3 separate regions of the Homo sapiens genome follow, and all the other regions are linked to region 3. Evidence: promoter capture Hi-C in human tissues and cell types (Jung and others, 2019). All regions are on one chromosome and are shown on one strand. The core of a region is centred on a gene start or on the middle of the fragment in contact, and the rest is flanking DNA. Distances in the headings are between cores, read along the strand shown.

The links. The method cuts DNA at HindIII sites, captures the fragments that hold promoters and counts their contacts. A contact is called where the count stands out against the background at its distance.
Region 1: a fragment that was not itself captured here is called in contact with the fragment with the promoter of TASP1 in region 3 in 2 of the 25 tissues and cell types used here (aorta and spleen).
Region 2: a contact is called between a fragment that was not itself captured here and the fragment with the promoter of TASP1 in region 3, in 2 of the 25 tissues and cell types used here (spleen and stomach).

What each region holds. Positions count from the first base shown.
Region 1 is chr20:13,494,374-13,497,961 of GRCh38, forward strand. The region is part of intron 10 of TASP1 (taspase 1); the gene reads right to left. Among named protein-coding and RNA genes, the nearest start is that of TASP1, 140 kb to the right of the region's middle. The HindIII fragment of the contact is 6,679 bases long and covers 1-3,588 here.
Region 2 is chr20:13,808,681-13,812,684 of GRCh38, forward strand. NDUFAF5 (NADH:ubiquinone oxidoreductase complex assembly factor 5) reads left to right here. Exons shown (of 11, transcript NM_024120.5): 8 at 162-222. Among named protein-coding and RNA genes, the nearest start is that of NDUFAF5, 26 kb to the left of the region's middle. The HindIII fragment of the contact is 5,919 bases long and covers 1-4,004 here.
Region 3 is chr20:13,637,479-13,641,564 of GRCh38, forward strand. TASP1 (taspase 1) reads right to left here and starts at 1,454. Exons shown (of 14, transcript NM_017714.3): 1 at 1,416-1,454. RefSeq lists enhancers at 811-1,311, 925-1,014 and a silencer at 1,205-1,354. The HindIII fragment of the contact is 12,335 bases long and covers 1-3,952 here.

The DNA of each region.
Region 1 (3,588 bases), core at 184-2,683, 140 kb before region 3:
TTAAGAGGCTTGCAATAGGCAGATGACTTGAGAAAACCCTTTTTAAAAGCTGTTAATTAATGAAAAAATATACTTAGATTAAATTCAATTATAGAAAACTTAATTTTTTTAGGGAGAAAGGGTCACTGACTCACTGACTCACTGATTAAATAATCAACTACTGTATATCTGGGGCTTTAGAATTATCTTGCAAGGAAAGTACTATCATCTCATCTGACAAACAAGAAAAGTGATTTGGAAGAACTAAGATTCTAAGATCCAAGTATTGTGACTCCTAGTAACATGCTCATTCCATAACAGTCACTGCAGAAACCAGGCTAATATCATCACATGAATAAAGGAGATATAAACAAAGAAAATCCAAAGCCCCAAAAATCTGAGAATATGGACAAGATCATAGTAATAATTATCTGCAAATAAGGAGCACAACAGGTTCTGATACTAACACTTAGGACTGTAGATAGTCTCCAATTTTAACCAGAAAGTCCTATAAATAGTAAGTCACCAAGCACATCCCAACAAAATAAAATTAAAGATTTTATTTTGCCTCTAAGCCATGGTGTGCATTTCATGAGCCAGAAAAAAAAAACCAAAGCCAAAATGCAGTTATAAACATCTACAAATATGCAGATGTCATGTAAAATATTTCACTATACATATTGATTATATATGTGGTATAAAGTCCACAAACAGAAAGAACATAAGCAAGACAGTTATACTACACCATAAATCTAACCTATAACTACTGAGCCAGCCACATATATTAAATATTTAATTAATAATTTTCTTAATGACTTAAAATTTAGAAGTAATTTATTGGGGTCATTTTGATCTCTTTAAAAGCTGAAAAGGAAGTTTGAGCCAATGTTATTTCTCAATAAATTCCTCTGTACAAAGGAGAGGCAATATAAATCATTTCATCAGCTTTAAAGCTGTACGCAAAGTTTAAAAACAACATTCAGTATTTAGAGGCCAAATAAAGTACCATAGAAAAAAGTCTTAAATCTGCTCACCAGTCATTGCTTATCCCTTTCTCTATTCAATACAGTATCAAGGGAAGTTTTGAGGGCAGGGAAAGACACACTGCTCTGAAGGAGGAAGGAGAAAATAGTATTCATATTTTATTCTCTACATCTGGGTAGAATTTAAGGAATATCAATACAGAAATTGTCCAAAAGCTGTCTTACCACCAACTAGAAAAATTATCAGATGAAAGTAGCAGATAAAAGAAGAAAGGGGCAAAATACAGGAAGGCCACCTCAAATGAGTTAGGTAACAAAAGACAAATAGACAATATACAATTTGGGACTCTTCAAGGTTTTCATTTGACACTATTACTAAGAAATAATAACAGGAAAAGAAGGAACTACATCAACTTGTATTACTTGTTAAATTTATTTATTTAATTTATTTTAGCCAGCAAGTTAACTTACAGTTTTATTCAAAATTACCTAAGACTGTGCTTCCCAATCTCTCTCAGGTCATGAGAAAAAGATATATCTTGGACTAAAATGTTTCATATAGTCTCAGGAAATTCACAGAATGCCCCATAAAAACCAATACATAGATTCCATAGGGTCTACAAATCCCAAATTAAGAAACCACATGGCTATAATTTTATTTAAAAATCTATAAGCGTATGGTTTTAAACCTGTAGGCTAAGGTTTCAATTTGATTTTGATTTTTTTTTTCTTCCTTGAAACAGAGTCTTGCTCTGTCACCCAGGCTGGAGTGCCCTAGTGCGATCTCAGCTCACTGCAACCTCTGCTTCCCGGGTTCAAGCCATTCTCCTGCCTCAGCCTCCTGAGGAGCTGGGATTACAGGTGCCTGCCACCACACCTGGTTAATTTTTGTATTTTTTAGTAGAGACAGGGTTTTGCCATGTTGGCCAGGCTGGTCTCAAACTCCTGACCTCAGGTGATCCACCCGCCTTGGCCTCCCAAAGTGCTGGGATTACAGGAGTGAGCCACTGCGCCCGGTCTGATTTTGATTTTTAATACTGCTGCTGGACCCATGAACTACAGTGATACTATCATCGCCTAGAGGCTAACATGAAAATTGCAGTAAAAATTTGGAAACTAGATTATTATGTTAAAATCACATTTCCTACTTAAAAAAAAAAAAAGGAGGAGGAGGATCATTGGAGAAATGGCTGGTTCTGGGTCTCTGGGTCTCATAAAAGATGTATTCAAGAGGAGTCTGAGGCATCTTGTTCTACCCAAAAACAAGAAAATTACCAAAGATAGTAAAGTCAAAGATCACAGAAACCAACATAAAGGGGCTCCAGTGCCAAAAGATGGACAATTTTACCAGCTAAAATAATGGTTCTAAATCCTCTAATATGTCTCACAAGCCTCCAAAACAGATCCCTGAAATTTCCACTTCTAGTTAGGATGAAGAAACTTCCAAGAGTCCAGCACTCCCACTGTAATAACAATAGCAAGCCAGATAAGCTACAGTCATGGGTTTTTTAACGAAAATGCACAAATATCTCAATAAACCTAATTCCAAAAAAGATAAGCCTTTCCTATGAGAAAACAGAGCCATGGTCTCTTCTATTCCTAAGGAAGCAGTGGAAAAAGAATAAATGCTGTAGATGAGGACAAGAAATTAGTTGAACTTTAATAAACTTCAAATGACTACATGTGAGCTACCATGATGCATCAGAATCAAAAGAAACCCCATTCACTAAACAAGGCTGAATCCATTCATCAATTCTTTCCTACAGGTCTTCACTAATAGCTCCAAAAATGTAGGGTAGAGCAGGAGAGCTGAAAGATATCCACACCCTGAGGTGCATAAGTTCTTTGGCAAGTGAAAAGCAGCAGCATTTTGAAGTCTGGGGACACAACAAGAGAGCTGAAGGAGAAGAGCCAACCTGGATGCAGAGAGCCATCACTTACTGCAAGGCAGCAGCCACCAAGCAATGGGAAAAGTAAAAAAGAGCTGAAAGAAATCCCTCAGAAGCACACTGGATCTTCCCTAAGTGCACTGCAACTGTCCACCAAAGTGTGAGACCAGAGTGGTAAGACAAAGGAAGATCTCATAGGTGGGTGAAAGTAAAAATATCCCCAGTGACCCAATAAGCTGAAAGCTAGGCTGTAAAAGACAGAAGGCAAGAGAAAGAGAGAAATTCCCCCTTCCTAAAGCTGACAGCTGGTCTATAAATAGATAAATAGATAAAGAGATATCTGGAGTTTTGCTGGTGCTCGGATCCCAGCCTTTGCTGAATAGTAAGACTTGACACTACCATCAGAATATCTCAAGCCAGCATATGGAAACAAAAAAGAGCCCAAAGAGACAGGGCAATCCTAAGCAAAAAGAAGAAAGCTGGAGGCATCACACTATCTGACTTTAAATTATACTACAAAGCTACAATAACCAAAACAGTATGGTACTGGTAAAAAAACAGACACATAGACCAGTGGAACAGAATAGAAAACTCAGAAATAAAGCCATACACCTACAACCATCTGACCTTCAACAAAGCTGACAAAAATTAGCAATGAAGAAATGACTCTGTATTTAATAATTGGTGCTGGGATAACTGGTTAGCCATACACAGAAGAATGAAATTGGACCCCTACC
Region 2 (4,004 bases), core at 970-3,469, 170 kb after region 3:
TCATAAATCAAACATAAGCCAGATGACATCTATGAAGAATATTGTAAATATTTTTTGCTTAGCATGGGAGATTGGTCTGGGTAGTCTCTGCGGCCTCTTTTTTAAATCTGGAATTTTGTATCATGAATGTCAAATGAATATTTCTTTTTCTTTTTAAATAGGACACTGATGAAATTCAAGTTAACTATCCTGGAATGTTTGAATTGATGGAAGATTTACAAGGTAAGGCACTTTAAAGAATTTTTAGACTCCATTGGGAAAGGTAGGCCAAAAAAAAAGAATTTTTAGACTCCATTTGAGAGAAACATTTTGAGAGCCAGCTCTTTGGCAGGCACTGGGCAAAGCACTAGGGATCCATTGTTGAGGAGAAAGCAGACTGTCTTCATGGAGCTTCTGATATAAAATGGAGGAGGCAGGCACCAGGCAGCTGTCACAGAGATAAGTGTTAAATTAGAATTATGGTCAGTGCTATGAAGTAGAGGCATATAGTGCTACGGCTGTTTGTAAAAAGATGGCGGGACTTTTTTTTGAAGGGTGCACTTGAGGATGATGGAACACATTGGTGACTTCCTTCAGCCACACTTGGCAGCTGAGATACAGGAATGAAGGTAGTTGAGTTGGTTTAGAAGTAGGGTTTTGTCAGGGGGAAATGTCCCAGTCTGGGAGACTCAAAAAGAAGTGTTATCTGAGGAAGTAGCAATTGAGCTGTGCTCTAAAAAAAAATGGAGATGAATTAACTGGGTAGACAGAGTAGGCAAGTGAATCTGAGGCAAGGAGAACAGCATATGCAAAGGCCCTCCTGTGAGAATGAACATAGCAAGAACTGAAAGAAGGGCATTTTGGCTGGTGTTCAGGGAGTAAGAAGGAGAGAGTTAAGTGATGACCTTGGTGGGTCAACGTGAGTCACAGATCAAATGCAGAAGTACTTTATAGGCCTTGTTAAAATTGTTTGCCCTTATCTTAAAATGCCCCTTGAGGCATCTTAGAGAGGTAACAGTATCAGACTTGGATTTTGAAAAGAGTAGATTGGCAGATAAACTAGTCACGAGATTAATTTCAGTATAGCTTGCTGAGAGATGATGGTAGTTTGTACTAAGGTGGTGGCAATGGAGATGAAGAGAAGCAGATTCATCCCAGAGATGTTTAGGAGATAAATTTTGCAGTTCCTGCTGGTGGATTGGCTGTGGGCAGATGAAGGAGAAAGACATTTGAAGCTTAATTGCTGAGTTTCTAGCTCACATAGAGAGATGGTGTCCTTCATTGATAGAAGAAACAATAGAAGAATACCAGGTGTGGGCAGGTACAGCCCTTGAGTTTACATTTGGATACATTGGGTTTGAAGTGCTTTTGAAATACCTAAGAGGTTATGTCAAGTAGGCAGTTGAGTATGTGGGTAGGTAGCTCAGAGGAAGCTACTGGCTTGGTTAAAAAGTTGGGAGTCAGTTGTGAATAGGTGGCATTCAAAGCGTTTGCCTAGGATAAGAACATGGAGTGAGCAGACAAAGTGGCTTGGTACTGAGGCTTTAGCAGGTGGGTAGTCGACGTCTGAGCCTACAAAGAGACTGAGAAGGAGTAGCCAGCAAGGTGTTCCAGAAAAACACCAGAAAAGTGTAGAATTGCCTGAACCAAAGGAAAGAAAGAATGTTTCAAAACAAAGGGAGCACTTAGCAGCGTTAAAAGCAAACTATGAACTGAAAAGGAAGTCCGCTAGATTTAGGAACAAGAAGGTTATTGGTGACCCTGGTGAGAGCTCTTTTGTTAGAGTGAGGAGAGTAGAAGAGGAGTAGGTTGAGGAGTAAGTGGAAAGTGAGGAACTGGAGATAGCAGATATGTGCTGTTCTTTCAAGAAGTCTGGTGGTGAAGAAGAGGTGAAGGATGGAAAGGTTACAGGTGTCAGAAGAGAGGAGAGGAATAGAAGTTGAGATGAGGTTGTTTTTTTTTTTCTAAGACTTGAATTTATTTAATTGCTGACTAGAAGAATCTAAGTGCTTTCCTAGAAGAGGTGACTCTAGAAGAGAGAGAAAAGATAATTGATGATGACAGGTGTCTGAGAAGGTGGGAAGGGTGCAATACAAAGGCCAGTGGAGGGGTTGACCTTGGTAAGGGGAGAGGCAAAGTTATAGCAGGAAGGGAGAAGAGGTAGCACCAAAGGATGTAGGTGTTTATGTTTGAAAACAAGAAGTTCCCATCTTGTGGGTCTATTTTTTTTGTCAAACTGGAAGTAATATATGCTAAGAATGAAAGGGTCAGAGTTTTGAGAAGTGAATGGAACCGTTTGAAATAGTCATTATAGGGAATGAGAAGGTGAACTGACCATCAACAGGAGGTGGCAGCTCAGGACCAGGCACGAAAATCGGATAGTTGAATTAGTTTGGGTTGGGGGTTTGCTAGTTAAAAGTGACAAAAAGACAAAGGTAAAAGATAATTCTAGGAGTATAATTGAGATAATAGGTTAAAGAATCTTAGCTGGAAGAAAAGGGAAGTGGGAACAAGAAAGAGTGAGCTGATAAATTGGGAGGAAAAAGAGGAGCTGAGCACAGGTGGTTCCAGTGTGGTCAGGGATGGTCACGGTTGAAGTTCCTGAACACACTGGAGGGACAGGAGGGTATGGTCAGAAAATGAGATGTTTGATGATTTTGGAAGTAAAGCAGTTACAAGTGATAATGGTCTGGGACGTGTCTCAGGTATCAAGGCAGAGGTGGTGTGATGGAGTGGTTGATTAGAGATGAGATTTTAAAATCTTAACTTGCTGATTATTAACATGAAGTCACCCAGGATGGTGGCAGTACTGGAGTGTAGAGGAAAACTGAGCCAAGTGCCAAACCTTTCAGTGAATGAGGGGAGTGACTAGCCTGATGTCAGACAGCAAGCAGGAGTTAGGAGGAGCTAACAGCCTTCTGGTGTGGGGCCTCAGCAGGGTGAAGGTGTTTAATAGGGTAGGGAAGTAATGGCTTGGAAGAGGCTTCAAGGAGTAAGAAGGATACAGATCAAACTCTGAAAGAGGTTAGATATGCAAAATATATGCAAAAATAAACTATTACTTGAAAGGGATGCTGGAGAAGCAGTTTCCTTAAAAGAGAGCTTCAACTTGCGTCCTTTGTGGGAATTTGTGAGGTGGTTCTTTTATATATATAGACTGACATCAAAAATCATTTCGATGAATGGGGGAAGCAAGAGGGGTTAAAGGTATGTTCTGTGAATCCAGAACTACACTTACCTAGGGGAGCCTTCATCTGGATCCTGAAAAATTGTAAGATGATTTAAAGAAAGAGGATTATACAAATAAGTATCTAGTCTTTACTTACAGATTTATAGTCTTTTGTGAGCATTGTTGTTCTTGCTTGCTTAAGTTACGAGTGAGAATAATTAGGGCCAAAGAGAACAGTTACCTGTCAAGTGGCAGAATTAGCTGCCAAACTCATGCTTCTTGGCTCTGCCCTGGCACTGTCTGAACTGACCCTGTTCCTTCTTGTGTTGCCCATCTGTAACAAGGTTCATTTGACCTATCGTGCAGCCTCCTCTGAGTGTGGAGCTTCTGTCACTCTGCAAACGGAAAGATGCGTAGCTGAAATCTTACCATTGTCATCAGTTTTCATTCATTAATAGAGGGATTGGCAGCCTGTAGCATGCATGGCCAAGATAACAGAGGATCAGTAATAAGTCACACACACCCCTTCCCCAGCATACCCCAAGGACTTACCTGATGTAATCAAGGAGCCACTTTATCCAAAGGCTTGAGAGATGATGGTGGGCTGATGATATATCACTCGGGCTCTAATAATAAAAATGTTATTCAAATACAGCATTTATTTTTGTTCTGCTGTAGAATCTGTGTTCATGATTCATTTCAAGAAAGAAAAGAGAAACATACTAGAAATTAGACCTCTCTGTTGGAAAAAGTTACTTCCCACTGATTTCAACATATGAGCAGCACTTAACTCTGTGCTTAGTGCAATTCTCTGAGGTTTTTCTAATACCCTAATTTTACCGGTGAGCAAATTGAG
Region 3 (4,086 bases), core at 204-2,703:
AAACAACCTAAATGTCCATCGACCGATGATGGTTAAGCAAAATGTGGCATATTCACACAATGGAACATTACCCATCCATAAAACAGAATGAAATACTGATACACAGACATTGATGAACCTTGAAAACATACTAACTGAAAGACACCAGACAAGTGAGGCCATATATTCTATGATTCCATTTATATGAAATGCCAGTATAGGAAAATCCATAGATACAGAAAGTAGATTAGTGGTTACAAGGCCTGGGAGAGAAAGCAGAGAATCTAATGGGGAGTGACTGTCATGAGTATAGGATTTCTTTTGGGGGTGATGAAAATGTTCTGAAAGTAGATAGTGGTGATGGGTGCACAACTTTGCGATATGAGAAAAAGCACTGAAATTTACAATTTTAAAGAATAAATTTTATGGTGCATGAATACCTTAATAAGACTTTCTCAAGAGGAAAAAAGACAATCTATCCGTGCAATGAACACAATGTATGTAACTATGCCTCTTAGTTATAACCGTATTTTACACGCATACATTATGATCACAAATAGGTTAATATGAATAAAATATTAGAAAAAAGATCAAAATGCTGGGTTGGCAGAACTATAGGTGATCTCTTCATAACTATTTCTGCATTTTCCAGATGTTCCTTAGTAAGCACTGCTTTTTGTAAGTGGTGGGGAAAAGTTTTATTTACAACAAAAAAGATAAATTATTAAACTCCTAAGAATATAAGTAAAAATTCCTTCGCTAATAAAGAATAATAATAATTCAGCAATCTAATGGCCCCTAACACACCTTTCCTTCCCCTCCCCTACAGAAGCCAGGAAAGTTGAACTCTCTCCTTCCGGAAACACGATACCCTCGATTTCCAGGACATCTCTAGCTCCTGCTTTCCCCCCCTCCTCTCCAGCTGCTCCATCTTCTCGGTCCTTTCCTCCTCCTCTTCTTCCTCCTCCTCCTCCCCCTGAGTAGTAAGTGCTAACGACCCGCAGGACTCTCATCAGGCCTCTATTACTAAGTAAGGGGCTGCCTTACCCCCAACCCGCCACCCAGGACAAGGCGCACATTCTCGGCTGTCTGCGAACCTCGGACTCTGAGACATCTCCAGCCTGAGACTGCAAAGTGGGTGAAGAACTGCGAGAACTCCCCACATACAGACAGTACTTCCCCGGTGGCCACGAGGACGCCAAGCCGGAGATGAGGCTGGGAAGGGGGACGACGGGGCCGCCTAGAGCGACCAAGACTAGGGAACTAGGGACATCCTGGCCCCCTCCTCTAGCCCCGCCCGGGGCAAGGGGTGTCCTGCGCGCCGCCCCCTCTCGGACCCGGAGAGGACGTCCCAGCTAGCGTACGGGGCCCACACACAGAGGCAGCAGCGCGGAGGCGGCAGCGGCGCGGACAGCGTGGGAAAGAGGGACACTCACCCGCTTCAGCCCCGAGCCTTCACTGCACCGGAAGTAGTCACCCGCCCGTTGCCAGGGTGAGGAAGCGGGGCTGACATCAAGTCTCCCCATTGGTCATTCGGGGTACCACGTGGTCGGAAGCAGCCTCCCACAAGCGGCTCTGACTCCGCCCTCCGCTTCGGAGCGGCTCACCTGGCCTCAGAGGTGCAGCGCTAACTCCACCTGGGGCTTCGTTCTGAGCTGCGCATGCGCTATTGCTTATCTCTACCCACCCCGCCCCTGAATAAGCCCGCAGGATGTGATTATATCTGAGTGGTTGATTGACTAATACTGTGATGAGAAATGAAATTAAACTGACCATCATTTTATCTAGGTGTCGCTTAAGAGTTACTTTCTTTCAATCCTTAGAGCACTGTTAGACGGTAGGGAAAACTAAGGTTCAGCCTGCATTGCTTGTAGGAGTTGGGGCACGAGCCTTGCCCAGGGGGAAGGAGTGTAGGCGGTCTTTTATCGGCTAGGATGTAAGACCGAAACCCAGTCATGGGTTTTGATGACCCATGACTGATGGATTTTCCTTATACTTCCACCAAAACATCACGTCGAACTGAATGTAAAGGCAGAAATGAGAATCTAACTGGCTTCTTTAAGCCAGCTATAGAGGAATTTACACTAATGCAAAAGATAACACTTTTCTTACCACATTTTTTTGTTTTTGGAAAATATTTATTCTTCATTAAAATGTCTTAATTATATTAACACATAATGGTTTATTATTGTTATTTTAAATAACTTTTTAACATTTCAGTTTTTTGTTGGTTTTTTTCTTTTTTTTTTGGAGATGGAGTTTCACTCTGTCAACCAGGCTGGAGTGCAATGGCACGATCTCGGCTCACTGCAACCTCTGCCTCCCGGGCTCAAGCGATTCTCCTGCCTCAGACTCCTGAGTAGCTGGGATTACAGGCGCTCGATACACACCCGACTAATTTTTTGTATTTTTAGTAGAGACGGGTTTTCACCATGTTTGCCATGCTGGTCTCGAACTCCTGACCTCAGGTGATCCTACTGCCTTGGCCTCCCAAAGTTCTGGGATTACTGGCGTGAGCCACCGCACCCAGCCACATTTCAGCTTTGTATTCAATTTTTAATATAGTAAATATTAATAGATGTAACCCACAGAAACAAAAGCTTTGGAGTGTTCTCTACTATTTTGGGGAGTATAAAGGTATGCTGAAACCAAAAAGTTCGAGAACCACTGATACCATTATTATAAATATAACCTATGTGGTTTTATTATGTAACTTGGGGCTTTTTTTCTTTCTCTTCTACCACTGACTTCTTAGGGAGGGGCAAGGGGAAGAAGTTTATTACATAGTAAGAATAACAGTTTATTACATAGCAATAGTAACTGAAACCGATTTTGTTACCTAGAAGTAGGATGGATATTATAACAAAACATAACATAATAACATCATAAAAGTAAAACGTGTGGCACTGGCTTTGGAACTAGGTGAAGCAGCAAGAGCAGGAAGGGATCCAAAGTATTAACAAGAGTCTAAAAGGACTTGAGGAAGCTGCCAATGAGGGCTTAAAGGGAGCTAAGGAAGATGTTATTGGAAGCTGGAGAAAATGGGGCCCTTGTTATATAGTGCCAGAAAGTTTGGCCCAGGCATTAGGAAGCAGACATAAACCATCCCCATTGTGACCTTTCTGAATTCCTCACCCGCAGAATCCATCAGCATAATAAAATAGTTGTTCTTTTGCACCTTTAAAGTGGATTTTTACACAGCAATATTAACTGGAACCAGCAGGAATAAAAGAAAGATGTTAAAGTTTTAAAAAGACATAGACATGCTCCCTTCCATTTCTTAGGCAACATTCTTCCTGGAATTTAACTACATTGTAATAATCATCTCCCAGTGCTGCTCTGTATACTTTTGTCTTGGGTATCACACCCAGATGCCACACAGGCCATCCTCTGGTAGGTGAATACTGCTCAAGTAAAAGTAACAAAATTCTTCGGACCCTTTTTTTTATTATTATTATTGAGGCAGAGTCTCACTCTGTTGCCCAGGCTAGAATGCAGTGGTGCGATCTCAGCTCACTGCAACCTCTGCCTCCCCGGTTCAAGTGATTCTCCTGCCTCAGCCTCCCCAGTGGCTGGGATTACAGGTGCCCGTGACCACGCCCGGCTAATTTTTGTCTTTTTAGTAAAGATGGGGTTTTGTCATGCTGGCCAGGCTGGTCTCGAGCTCCTGACCTTAGGTGATCCACCCATCTCGGCCTCCCAAAGTGCTGGGATTACAGGCATGAACCACCATGCCCAGCCCAGACCCAAGTTTTAACATTTTTAACCTGCATTGGGTACAGTAACAATGAGATCCTTTGAAATATTAATAACGAACAGTTGTAATATCTATTTGATTAACTCAACATGTTAAATTTGAAAGGAAAGTCTATACTAGTAAATCTCCTTCAGAAAAAATCTGGTTGCCTCCCTCTTCCTGTTCCCACCTCTCCCAAACCCGGAAAAGCAGCAAGCTGAGGAATTACTTCCTTTATCTCAAATAATCATGTCTGCTGCATCTTGATCTTTGTACTCTAAGTAAGCCCCCTCTGTCCTGGTTCCCTGGGGGTCTCCCTTTGTTTTGTATTCCTGGAAAACTATTGCTTTAACACATGTGTCAGAAATGTA